3 separate regions of the Homo sapiens genome follow, and regions 1 and 3 are each linked to region 2. Evidence: promoter capture Hi-C in 16 types of primary human blood cells and fetal thymus (Javierre and others, 2016). All regions are on one chromosome and are shown on one strand. Each heading gives the region's core, a stretch centred on a gene start or on the middle of the fragment in contact. The rest is flanking DNA. Distances are from core to core; before and after follow the strand shown. Region 1 overlaps BTRC (beta-transducin repeat containing E3 ubiquitin protein ligase). Region 2 holds the start of FGF8 (fibroblast growth factor 8). Region 3 has its middle 12 kb from the start of LINC02681.

Evidence for each region. Contacts are between HindIII fragments. The CHiCAGO score rates a contact against its expected background, and 5 or more counts as called.
Region 1: a contact is called between a fragment that was not itself captured here and the fragment with the promoter of FGF8 in region 2, in 1 of 17 cell types (megakaryocytes). The highest score is 5.4, in megakaryocytes.
Region 3: a contact is called between a fragment that was not itself captured here and the fragment with the promoter of FGF8 in region 2, in 1 of 17 cell types (endothelial precursors). The highest score is 6.9, in endothelial precursors.

What each region holds. Positions count from the first base shown.
Region 1 is chr10:101,457,275-101,462,015 of GRCh38, reverse strand. BTRC (beta-transducin repeat containing E3 ubiquitin protein ligase) reads right to left here. Exons shown (of 15, transcript NM_033637.4): 3 at 1-35. Among named protein-coding and RNA genes, the nearest start is that of BTRC, 110 kb to the right of the region's middle. The HindIII fragment of the contact is 172 bases long and covers 1,673-1,844 here.
Region 2 is chr10:101,774,566-101,779,180 of GRCh38, reverse strand. FGF8 (fibroblast growth factor 8) reads left to right here and starts at 3,067. Exons shown (of 6, transcript NM_033163.5): 1 at 3,067-3,312; 2 at 3,405-3,441; 3 at 3,965-4,051; 4 at 4,269-4,449. The coding sequence starts at 3,281. RefSeq lists enhancers at 1-401, 2,168-2,986, 3,423-4,161, 4,162-4,615 and a promoter at 1-3,262. The HindIII fragment of the contact is 3,344 bases long and covers 2,280-4,615 here.
Region 3 is chr10:101,273,661-101,277,910 of GRCh38, reverse strand. No RefSeq gene overlaps it. Among named protein-coding and RNA genes, the nearest start is that of LINC02681, 12 kb to the right of the region's middle. The HindIII fragment of the contact is 3,121 bases long and covers 1,409-4,250 here.

The DNA.
Region 1 (4,741 bases), core at 509-3,008, 320 kb after region 2:
TCGCCATTATTACAGTCTTCTCTCTCTGAGGAATTCTGTGAAAGAAAGTAAGCTTTAATTCAGTTCTCATTATCTTCAATCTTATCCTTTGGGAGTAAACTGAATTACATTTCTAATTCTGTAAGTTAGAACATACATATATTTATACAATTATTCACTTGAAGATTTGTATACATACAGATATACACATATGTAAAAGAAAACATATGCCCATGTATATAAATAAATTATGTAAGGATTTAGATGGGAAGTATTTCATGTATCTTTAAGCATTGTGTAGGAGATCATATTCATTAGATCTCTAGCTTGCACTTTGACACAGGTTGACACTGGATACAAGAAAGTTCCAGCCCACACTTAGCTGATGACAACTAAAACCATGATTATTACCTTCTCTCGATTATAGTAGATGTTTGGTTGGCACAGATCTCCAAGTCTGGGTCCTAAAAATAGTTATTTCTCTTCCCCCTCTTCTCAGATTTGATTTTATTTTCTTTGATAAAAGTAGCATAGGACTTAAAAAAACATTTACTCAGTAGTTTAGGATTAGAGTCCATTCCTTGGCACTGTCACCTCAAACAGCAGCTAGAGGCCCTAAAATGTCAGTGGGGTTTTTATATACTTAGGAGGGGGAAAAAAACAACAATCCAACTGAAAATGAGTTCATAAGTACTAAAAATCTGCTAGTCAATATATGTAAATCACTATCTACAAGGCAAAATACAGAAAATCCAAATTACATATTATTTGAGTTCCATTTTCAGCAACAACATTAGTAACATTAATAACATTAATATTTAAAACCCTGCAGTTGTGCTAGGTGCGGTGGCTCACACTTGTAATCCCAGCACTTTGGGAGGCCAAGGCGGGCAGATCATCTGAGGTCAGGAGTTTGAGACCAGCCTGGCCAACATGCTGAAACTGTGTCTCTACTAAAAATACAAAATTAGCCAAGTGTGGTGGTGGGTGCCTGTAATCCCAGCTACTCGAGAGTCTGAGGCAGGAGAATCGCCTGAACCCAGGAGGCCGAGGTTGCAGTGAGCCGAGATCACACCACTGCACTCCAGCCTGAGTGACAGAGCAAGGTTCCGTCTCAAAACAACAACAACAAAAAACTTACAGTTAATATATTCCTTACATTACATATAGTCATAACGTTCTAACAGGAGGGTTAGTTTATTTGTAGGTTCAGAAATTATTTTTAACATGAGAGTTTATCTGAAAATTTTCATACAAGCATGAAATTATTAATATACAATCATTACTGTGTTCTAAACCTACATGTAAATTTCACTTTTTTGGTTTCTATTAGATATTACATTTTGAAAGATACTGAGAGATAAAAAACGTACTGTGTCATTCTGAGGCCCTTTCACCTCTGTGGCTGACACCTGTGTGTCACCTTTAGTAAGCCTGACAGGCCAGTACCCTAATGTGTTTCTTTTGGGCAGAAATATCTTATGAGGTTTAACTTGATATTTTACATTTGTGATGATCCCTTGTAAAAGTCCCTAAAATTAAAGAAAAAGCATGCTATATTACAAAGAAAGGGACAGAGACTCAAGAACTTCAGAGTTCTAACTTCTTTTCCTCCCTGTTTGGAAAAAAAGGAATGGAGATCATCTACCAAAAAATGGAGGAAGGATATAATTGAATTAATGACTACAAAGCTTGACAAATGAGGCGACTGGCAATACATGCTATGTAAGAGTATCAAACAAAGAAAGGGAAAGGTCAACATTTATTTACCCCATAACATCAAGTTGTATGTTTAACTTTTTTTTTTTAAATGTAAAGATCAATGTTTTAAATACCAAAATTAAATGCCTTATATAATAGAAGCTTAAGCCAGTATCCAATTATAAACTTAGAATTTGCAAGTAACTCTCTTTCAGGTCATGAAATTCCTCCTTTAAATAAATAAATAAAAAGATCAGATAAACTAAACCTGTTTAATTCAGTGTAAGATCCTGTATTTCAAAATTAATTATGTTTTTTGAAATGTTATCATATAACTTGGAGCCTAATTACTTTTTGCTGGAAGTTTGTCATACCAAAGATACTATAAATCACATTTTTATTATACAGGTACTTGGGCTGATACACAATTGCTGGCAAACTCCTCTATACTGAATTATAAAGTGAAAAATAGTCATCTCAACCTTAACAGCCTGAGTATTGACTAGCCCATACTCACAATTTTCTTTTTACTGACCCTCTATTTTATCAGATTTAGATGGATAACCACTGGGTGGGTATTATGAAAATGTCTAAAGAATGAAAACACAAAGGGAGCTTAAAGGGTGTTACTAACCTAACATAGAACACAGAGCTTCTTAGGAGTTCCTTTCCCCTTTCTATCCCACTAGGGCAAAGAATATTTAAATGGTATTGTTAAAAATAACTCTTAAACAAAAAATGGGGGAAACCCATAAACATTGGTATGTTCTTTTAATACAGATTAACCCAACACTTTTACTCTGGGCCATCCATCATGAGAAATCAAATCAAACAAAAAATCCAACTTATAATGTTGTTACAAAAAAATAGAGGTAGGGACATTAAACAGTCATGATATCAGGAACAAGGATTAGGAACCCTCCTAATACTAAAGAGTAGAAGCAGAATGCCAGTGAATGAGATTACTAGGTCTACAGTCTTGAGGGTAAGGGGTAATGATGAAATAGCCATGTATACCTAAGTAGTCACCTCAACAGTTCTCAAAGCCTGTCCAACATCACCCAGGAAAGCTCAGCAACACAGTTATTCCTTGCATCTTTATCTATGAGGATTCCCAATAAGCTATGTGCATAATTTTCCTAGATCATCAGGCTAAATTATATCCAATAAATTCTATTTAAGGATAAGTGATTAATATAAGGAAGAATCATCATTGGGTGCTAAAATTAGCAAGTGAGCCTAGTACTTTGGCATATGCGTGTAATCCCAGCTGCTCAGGAGGTGGAGGCAGAGGGACTGCCTGAGTCCAGGAGTTTGAGAGCAGTCTGGGCATCACAGCAAGACACCATCTCAAAAACCTAAGTAAAATTTAAAACTACAATAAGTGAGTGAAAGTTTGACAAGTTAACAGGATGGTCACATAATCTCAAAATATTTTTTCTATAAGATACTTGATAGTTACAATGAAAAAAGAGTAACCTCATAGTGGAGAAATCCAGCAGATGCCACCTTAAGATTATGTGCCTTTTAATATGATGTACTGAAAACAGCACATCACTTGTGAGGTATCCTTGTCAAAACCACAAAACTTAAATCTACTTATAAGAAAACATCAGGCTAACCCAAAAATGAGTATTTCATTCCATAAAGTTACTAGTTTGTACCTAAGAAATGTCAAGGCCATGAAATAGACTAAGGAATTGTTTCAGATTAAAGGAAACTAAAGAGGTATAGCACACACTGTTGAGGCAATTGGAAACTTTTTAGTAAGTTCTGTAGGTGAACTAATAACACTGTATCAATATTAATTTCCTGATTGTTTCCCCACCATTAAAATTTACATACAGAAAAATTTACCCTTTTTGGTATACAGCTCTGTAAGTTTTGACAAAAACATACAGTTGTATAACACCGCCATTAAAAAATGAAAAATTCCACCACTCCCAAAATTCTCTTGAAATTCTCCTTAATAGTCAACCCTCTCCCCACTGAAAATCACTGATTTGTTGGCTCAATAATTTGTGCCATTTTCAGAATGTCATATAAATGGAATTATATCGTACGTAACCTTTGAATCTGGCTTTTATCACTTAGCATAAAATATCTGAGATCTACTCATGTTGTTGTAAATACTAGTATTTCTTTTCCTTTTATTGCCAAGTAGTATTATCTACTGTATGGATGTGCCACAGTTTTGTTTATCCATTCAATTTCCTGGTTTTGATAATTTGTACTGTGATTATTTTTATTAAAATGTCTTTGTTTTTCTGGAAACACGCACTGAAACATTTAGGGGGGATGGAACATTACGTCTGTAACTTTCAAATTGTTCAGAAAAAATAATACATAAATGGATGTATGTGCGTGTGTATATGTATTTATAAGCAGATATAATACAAATATGGTAACATGTTAACATTAGGTAAATCTATGTGAAAGGGTGTAAGGAGATTCTTTGTGCTATTCTTTTCACTTGTCTATAAATCTGAAGTTATGTCAAAATAAAAAATTAATTAATTAAATCCATAATAAAATGTTAAGAAATGGGAGAAAAGTTAAGTGAAAAATAAATTTTAGGGGGAAAATTCCATCAAATGTAATTAACGTTATATTCTACTGCTTAACTTTAAACCAACCCTAAGCAAACTTGACTGCTCAGAACAACAGATTCCCAATACTCAGATGGAAAGTTTCATTATAGTAAATAAATTGCAGAATGTGTTTGTAGTCCTTGAGTAATAATAGTCTATGAATAGCATTACAGTAGTCCTCCCTTATCCACAGTTTCACTCACGCAATTTCAGTTACTACAGTCAACTGAGGTCCTAAAATATTGAATGGAAATTTTTAGAAATAGTTTTCAATTGTGCACCTTTCTGGTAGCTCTGTCCTGCCCAGGATGTGAATTATCCCTTGGTCCAGTGTATCCACACTGTACATGCTACTTGACCATGAGTCATTGACATTGTCTGCTCCTGACATCCCACCACCAACATCTTCATGGCTCAATAATCCAGGATCACCTAAAGCAGGTAGCATGCTGTCAAAGGGTCAGTAGTAA
Region 2 (4,615 bases), core at 1,818-4,317:
GTGTGGATTGGAGGGGCCGGGGGATGGGCTGGGATCGAGGGGTGCGTTTGGAAATAGGCTGAAGTAGTGTGTCTGGGTGCAGGCGAGGGCGTGTCTGCGGAGATGGGCCGTTTGTGTTGGCGAGGAGTGTGTGTTTGTGTTTGCAGGCGAGGGAGTTTGTGTCTGTGCGTGTGTGTGTTTGTGTTTGCGGAGTGTGGGGGCGGCCAGGAAAGGTGGCCGGGCTGTCACTCAGCGATCAGGTTGACAGGCGCTCCCTCATCTGGGCCAGGGAGCTCTGATTGCAGATTCGAGGAAACAAAATAGCAATTGTAATTACCGGGCTTTGATAAGATAAAGGAGGGAGGGAGCTGGCCGGGAGGCGGGCGAGCCAGCAAGGGAGGGAGCGGCCTGCGGGGGCCCGGCGGGACATTTGCATCTGTCAGTCACGGGGCGTGCCAGGGCAGAGCCAGGTGCTTGCTCCCGGGGTGTCCCCATCTGCTCCTCTCCCCCAGAGAAACGGACTTTTGGGGAGATGAGAATTTCAACGAACTAGGTGAGGGTCCGCTTCTCAGGAGGGTCTCCAAATCCAAATGTAAAGGAATCCTGGTCCAGCACAGGCTCCCTGGCAGAGGCTGGGACAGGACTGAAACTTGACCTCGGACCCTTCAGATCCCAGGACGCCCATCTTCTCTGGGGCAGAGGAAGAAGGGTGGCTGAAGACCATTGAGGGTCAACCCAGGGCCCTCAGAATCTTCTGGGGGTTCCACAGCTGGAGCTGAATGCTGGTCTCAGCCAGGGGCTCTGCCCCTACCCCCATTCCAGGGAGGGGCAGGTACCCAGAGTGGCTCTGGCTGTGACCCCAGGACCATGCAAACACTGTTGGATGGGCGGGTCACCCTCACCCCTGCCTGGGGCCTACTCCCTGCTCTGCTTATCTCACTGATGTTCAGAGAGTCCATGGTGGGAGAAAGCCCATTTCTTACAGGAAGTGCCTGCTCTCCATCTCTCCATTCAATCATTTGTTCATCGACATACGCAACTAAACATGCTTGAGGGCCTACTGTGTACAAGGATGAGGGTAAGACCACAAGCAAACAGACATAACCTTTGCCCACTTGAAGCAGTGCAGAGAGGGAAACAGACACTCAATGAATTGTGACTCAGGCCTTACACAGAACACAGGGAAGGCAAGGGCTGGCCTGGGCTGTGGCCACTTGTGTCCACCTGACTTGTCTCCGCCTGATGGACCCACCTCCCCATGGGCTTTAGAGGAGACAGTGCCTGCCAAGCCTGTGGCAGATACAAGTGCTCACTAACTGGTGGTGTTCCTGGTGATAATCTGTTGGGAGGAGGTGAAGGCAGGTCTTCCTGGGGAAGTTGCAAATAGGCTGAAGTCTACAGGCTCAGCCACTTCCCCCATCATTCATTCATTCATTCATTCAACGAACTCTTAATTGCAGAACAGCTCTGCCCAGCCTTGTGCCACGAGCTGTGATTTCTGAGCTCATAAGACATGGTCCTTGTGGGCAAGGTCTGTGTGGGCAAGAGCCCACTGAACAGACTCCTGGAGGAGGATGGCAAGTGTGCTCTGGAAGTCTACTTCTCTGAGGAGGGATAAGATCTTGGAACGCACCCTCTAACTGTTTTCCCATCTCTCCATTGCTCAGTGTTTGCATTTATGGCTGGGAGTTGGAAAGATGGGGCACAGGGAAAGGTGGGACACAGAGCAGGGAGGGAGGCAGGGCCTGGCTGTGCTGCTGGACTAGGGCTGCCGCTAATTTTGGCCTAATGGCTTCCTGGGACCACACCAAACCCTCCAGCCCTACCCCCAGGGGAATGGAGGGTCACTGGGGAAGGGGAGGTTGTAAGTGAAGACAGCAGTCTGGTAGGGCATCACCTGCTCCTCACAAGGCACCTGTCCCAGAGCATCTCTGTCCACCCAGGCTGCTCCCACAGAAGCAGCATGGGGGCTCAGGGTTTCCAGAAACCTCAGGGGGGAAGCCACAAGGTGGGGGGCTAGGAAAGGCTTAGACAAGTGCCTACCTTCTCCTATGCCCCAAGCCCAGCTGACCAGCCCCTGCCTAGAATACAGTAGGTGTGTAAATACCTGTGAAATGAAAAACGAGTGGGGCTTTGAGGGGGAAAGGGCTGGGTGGCCTGGATGGAAGTCCCTTCCCCCAGTAAAAGCTACTGAGAGTTTTTTTGCCCCTGCTGCCTGCTGAGGTACGGGGACAGTGGGTCCTGCCAGGGACCTCCGGACTCTCTCTTCCACACAGGTGGCTCGGGGTGCTCCTCAAGCTTCAGGCTAGTGTGTGTGTGTGTGTGTGTGTGTGTGTGTGTGTGTGTGGTGAGGGGCACAGGGGAAGGGGTGATAGTGATAATGGGATGGGGGGAGGGGGAGGCATTTCTGGCTCCCAGGGCCTCCTCGGGAGAGTGAAGGAGACTGGAGAGACCGACAGGACGGGGCACGCGGCCGAAACAGGGGAGCGGGGTCCGGGTGGCACCGGCACGCACTGCGCGAGGGCCGGGTGCGCAGCCATTCGCTGCATGGTTAGCGGCCGCTCCCAGGGGCCCGGCGGGACACACAGTAGGTGGCTCGGAGACCACTGCGTAGCCGGCGGCGGAAGCGGCTGGGCCCGGAGGCGGAGACCCAGACCCGCCAGACTCGGGCGCTCCAGGCGGTCGGGGAAGCCCAGGCTCGGGGTCTCCCGGCCCGCAGAGTTTGCAGCCCTAGGCGCCCCCATCCCCGCGCGTCCGGGACCGGGGAGCGCGCGAGGGGACAGGCCGGGGATAGGGGGAGGCGCCCAGACCGGCCGCCCCCGCCCCTCCCGCGGGTCCCCAGACCCCTCCCCTAGCCCAGACCCTCAATCCCGAACCCGTCGGCCGCCCCTCCCCGGCCGCCCCGCCCCCGCCCCGGGCTGCATCCAGGCCCCAGTTCCCAGCCGGGGGCTGCGGGCTCCCGCCGCCCGCCCCGCGCTCCCCCCTCGCGCCCGGTGCGGCGCCCCCCGCCCCCACCCCTCCCCGCCCTCCCACCTCCCCACCCACCCCGCCAGCCCGTGACCCTCCCGCCCGCTCCGGCTCCCGAGCAGCCAGCGGCCACCGGCTCCGGCAGCGGCGCACAGCGATTCGGTGCGGCGCGGCGAGCACGACGTTCCACGGGACCCGCGGAGCCGCGTCGTGATCGCCGCCGGCCTCCCGCACCCGCACCCTCTCCGCTCGCGCCCTGCTCAGCGCGTCCTCCCGCGGCGGCCCGCGGGACGGCGTGACCCGCCGGGCTCTCGGTGCCCCGGGGCCGCGCGCCATGGGCAGCCCCCGCTCCGCGCTGAGCTGCCTGTGAGTACCGCGCCGCCCTGCCCCGCCACCCGCCCCCCGCGCCCCTCGCCTCACCCGCGCCTCTCTCTCCCGCCCGCTTTTGTCTCCCACAGGCTGTTGCACTTGCTGGTCCTCTGCCTCCAAGCCCAGGTGAGGAGGGGTGCGCGGAGGCGGGGGCCGGGCGCGCCGGTGTGAGACCCGGGTGGGCAGCGCCGGTCGGGGGCACCGGGACTGACTCTGCGGCCGGCGCGGGAGGGCTGAGGGCACCTTAGAAACCCAGCCCCGAGCCACCCCGAGGAGGGAGCTGAGGCACAGAGAGGTAGCACCCCTCCTGAGGTCACACAGCGAGTGAGTGGCCAGGATAGAAACGAAGGTCTCGGAGCCCAGCACTGTCCCCCATGCATCCTCGCCGGCTGGGGGCATAGGGAACACCCAGCCGCCGAGGAAGGGGGCAGCCGCGGCCAGGGGATGGATGTTCGATGCCAGGGGAAGCCGGGTGACTGCAGCAGAGACCCTCTCAGCGCCCCTCGGGGGAGGCTTGTGGCCGATTTGGCCCAATGATCGGGTGCCCAGGTTCCCTGCACTCTCAACATTTGCTCCGTAAATTTGTCTTTATAAATGTCAGGGGTCGGGGAGGGCTGCCTCCCTACTTAAAAGCGCCCTGCTCCTCTAGGAAGGCCCGGGCAGGGGCCCTGCGCTGGGCAGGGAGCTCGCTTCCCTGTTCCGGGCTGGCCGGGAGCCCCAGGGTGTCTCCCAACAGGTGGGTCCAGCTTCTCCCTGGGGCTCGTTCATCCTGGGCTGGGTCTGCCCGACTTGCGTGGGTGGGGGATGGTGGCCTGGGCTGGCATGTTGGGGGAACCCCCAGCACCTGCTGGCGGCTTGGGGCAGTGAGGGGGACGCAGGGTGATGGGGCCACTCGGGCCCCTGGGCGGAGTAGCATTATAATGGTGTATTGTGTATTTTTCAATTTCCTAAAGGTAACTGTTCAGTCCTCACCTAATTTTACACAGCATGTGAGGGAGCAGAGCCTGGTGACGGATCAGCTCAGCCGCCGCCTCATCCGGACCTACCAACTCTACAGCCGCACCAGCGGGAAGCACGTGCAGGTCCTGGCCAACAAGCGCATCAACGCCATGGCAGAGGACGGCGACCCCTTCGGTAAGGCGCGCTGAAGGTAGCTTGTGGGATGCGCGGCGCCTGGACCACCAGTCCCAACTGCACTGGCCGGGGGCCTGCAGGGTCCCCAGCTCAGAAGGGAAGGAGTTAAGGCAGAAAGGTGTCTTGAGGGTCAGCTGGGGAAGAGAGGGCTAGGGAAGGGGCCTCG
Region 3 (4,250 bases), core at 1,720-4,219, 500 kb after region 2:
GCGCCTGTAGTCGTAACTAATGGGGAGGTTGAGGTGGGAGGATGAGCTGACCAGGGAGGTCGAGGCTATGGTGAGCTGTGATTGCGCCACTGCACTCCAGCCTGAGTGACAGAATGAAACGGCGTCTCAAGTAAATAAAGAAATACATATTTAAAAATAAAAGTTATTTCAAAAAAAGAATAGGAGATCCTGGGGAAAGAGGCAAAAGGATCCTTCTGGGACGCTAGAAATGTGCTGTATCTTCATCTGGTTAGAAGTTACAGTGTGTGTATAAAAATTCATTTAAAATTCACTTAAGGGCTGGGTATGGTGGCTCACGCCTGTAATCCCAGTACTTTGGGAGGCTGAGGCAGGCAGATCACCTGAGGTCAGGAGTTTGAGACTAGCTTGGGTAACATGGTGAAATCCCATCTCCACCAAAAATACAAAAATTAGCCGGGCATGGTGGCGTGCGCCTGTAGTCCCAGCTACTCGGGAGGCTGAGGCAGGAGAATTGCTTGAACTCAGGGGGTGGAGGTTATAGTGAGCTGAGATCATGCCACTGCACTCCAGCCTGGACCACAGAGCAAGACTCCATCTTAAAAAAAAAATTCACTTAAGATTATTGTACTTTACTGTACATGTTATACCTCAATTAAAAAATAATTATGCTACAACCTGACAGATAAAAAACATTATGCTATCAGGCAGCCTAAGATTAGTGCCCAGGAAGGAGTATAAAGGACTATGGACCTCAAAGGAAGAGATATGCCTGGTGGTCATTGTGCTTGGGGAGGATGTTCAGGAAAGATTTTGTAGGAAGAGCCATTTCCTATAGGACTTGAAGGAAAGGTGGGGTGTTAATAAGGAAGAGCTGTTGAGAAGGAGTTTTCCAGTTGGGGTGTAATTGTGAGCTGGTGGGCAGCAGAAAGAAGGCTGCAAAGGCAGTTTGAGTTTAGATCAGCAAGACCCTCTCTGAATGCCAGCCAGCTGAGAAGTTCTTACTTAACTGAGTGCCATTGCTTTTGAGCAGAACAGGGACAAAATGGAGTCAGCTTTAGGTGATTCATATGGTCACTGGTGGATTGGCTGGATGGAGGGCAGAAAGGCATTTTGGCTGCTACAATGATCCTGAGAATGAGCTTGCAGGCCTGCTGCAGCCCCAGGGCTGTGGGATCCAGGGTCTCAGGTCCTTTGGGTATCAGGGCCATGCCCCAGGAAGAGATAGAATGCAGTGATGGGAGTTGGTGGGAGAAGTGGGCATTAGGTGAGGGCTCAGCTGAGAGTAGAATCCTCAGGGAACCTCCTTCCCAAGCCCCTGCTGGCAGCATCTCTTGCTGCTTCTTCTGCATTGATTTATCCCTGGGCAATAATTTTGTTCTCTGGTCCTTGCTCTAAAGGACTGCTGGCAGCTGGGCCCTGGAAAGCTTCTCTGTAGCTGCCTCCTGCCTCCCAGCAGGGCCCAGCAAGATGCCCAAGACAGAGGAGGTGAGCAATAAATATTTGTAAAGTAAAGGCTAGAGATCTGGCTCAACTAAGACAGCAAGAGGCTATAGGAAGCCAGCAGGAAAGTCCTCAGAAGACAGAATAGCTAAAAGACCGGAAGGAAAGTGGAATTTGCCCAAGTCACATCCTTCTTATATCACTTACTAGCTGTATGATCTTGGGCAAGGTACCTTCCATGCTTCAGCTTCTATTAAGTGGGGATAATCATGGTACCAGTTTCCCTGGGTTATTGTGAGGATGAAATGAAATAAAGCATCCGAAGCATTTGGATACAAAACTTGATACAAAGTGGCACTGAAGAAATGTTAGCAATTTTTATAATTGCCTCTGAGTGGTGGGATTAAAGGTTTTCTTTCTCCTGCTTCTTTACACTTATTTTCTACTTGGCTAAGCAGGAAAAAATAAAGTAAAAGAGAGAAGAAAAAAGAAACTGGTGATAGAAACATGCTTGGAGGGGCAGCCAGAGAAACAGACACCGTTATTCAGAAACATTTCTCCAGCCCCAGAGCAGGGAGAAGGAGCTGTACCCACAAGCCTGGGTAGGAACAGGCTGGGTTTTAATCTTACAGGGTGGGAGAGGTGTAGATTGATTGGCAGGTAGATGATGTAGATCTACGAACAGATTCAATGTCTTTTTTTTGAGACAGAGTTTCACTCTTGTCACTTGGGCTGGAGTGCAATGGTGAGGCCTCGGCTCACTGCAACCTCTGCTTTCGGGGTTCAAGCGATTCTCCTGCCTCAGCCTCCCGAGTAGCTGGGATTACAGGCATGCGCCACCACACCCAGCAACTTTTGTATTTTTAGTAGAGACAGGGTTTCACCATGTTGGCCAGGCTGGTCTCAAACTCCTGACGTCAGGTGATCCGCCCCCCTTGGCCTCCCAAAGTGCTGGGATTACAAGCATGAGTCACCGTGCCCAGCCTTTTTTTTCTTTTTTTGAGACAGAGTCTCTGTCTCCCAGGCTGGAGTGCAGTGATGCAATCTCAGCTCACTGCAGCCTCGACCTCCAGGGCTCAAGCGACCCTCCCACCTCAGCCTCCTGAGTAACAGACTACAGGCGCACACCACCATGCCCGGCTAATTTATGTATTATTATTATTGAGATGGAGTTTCACTCTTGTTGCTCCGGCAGGAGTGCAATGGTGCAATCTTGGCTCGCTGTAACCTCCGCCTCTGCGATTCAAGTGATTCCCCTGCCTCAGCCTCCCAAGTAGCTGGGATTACAGGCACCCACCACCATGCCCAGCTAATTTTGTAATTTTTAGTAGAGTTGGAGTTTCACCATGTTGGTCAGGCTAGTCTCGAACTCCTGACCTTAAGTGATCCACCTGCCTCGGCCTCCCAAAGTGTTGGGATTACAGGTGTGAGCCACCATGCCTGGCCTATAATTATTATTATTATTATTATTATTATTATTTTGTAGAGACAGGGTTTTACCATGTTGCCCAGGCTGGTCTTGAACTCCTGGACTCCGGCAATCTGCCTGTCTCAGCCTCCCAAAGTAGATCCAATATCTTTAATAAAACATCATCATTCATTGAGTGCTTCCAAGGTGCCAAAGTTTTTATATGTTACTACTGATCACCACAACCCTGCAAAGTAAATATTATTACTCCAATTATTGCACTACTCTGAGAAGTAACTTGCCCAAGGTCCTACTGCAGAGCTGAGATTTGAACTCAACACTGAGATGACTTATTTCCACTAAACTTCAGGGCCATTTTCCACATATGAGATGCACGAAATATATGGACCTCATATATAAGGGTCCATATATGAGACCCCTAAAAGAAGAGAGGCTGTGCAGCCACGCCCTCAGGCCCGAACTCCCTGCCCCAGGCAGGACTGAGCTGTATTGGGCATTCCCTCTCCCCATCCCTTTTCTTCTCTCAGGTTATTGCAGAGAACGGCCAGTTCCTGCACTTGTCCCCAGACCTCCTCTCTGAAAGTGGGCACCGGACACCGGTCCCTGCCCCCAGCCCAATCAAAATTCCCTCTTCTGTTCCCTCTCCACTGCTGGTGACACCTCTTCTCTCCCATGCCTGCCACCACCATCTATCAGCAGCACTTTAAGCTCTGCCACAGCCTCTCGAAGTTGCTAAATCCCCTATTTGGTTTAGTTCCACTCCAACTCCCCCTGCACAGAGGGAACCGATGGGACGCAGGGAAATTATACACATAATAAAGAGCCTGTTTGCTCCAATAATTCTGATAATGATACACACCTCACTCCTTCCCATGCACACACAGCTGTACACACATGCACATATCACACCCTATACCTCCCAATCCTCATGTCCACCAAAATACCTTCCAACCTGCTGACATGCAGCTCACATCCCAGAGGCGCCCCCCAGACCAGTGTCTATACTCATTCACTAAGGTACACACCCTGTTCTTGGGAAATTCTCTGGGTCACTTTGCCTGTTCCCAGCTCCCATAGTACATGGCATTCCCCCTTCACGGCATTTCCCAGCTATGTCCTCAGGGCCTGTCTTCTCTGGAGCTCATTAGATTGTGAGCAGTGATAGTGTCTATGTGGTTCACTGTTTAACCAAGTGCAGTGCTTGGGACATGGTGGCGCCTCCATAACCTGGTTGAGTGAATGATGGAATGAATGAATGCACACTTTACTACATTCATCCCCTTACAGACACACATCGCATCTTGGGGTATCCCCCATCCCCACCCACCCACACATCACCCCTCTGAATTGCATCTTACATAGATACACACACATCGTGGGTAATCACACACATTCCTGG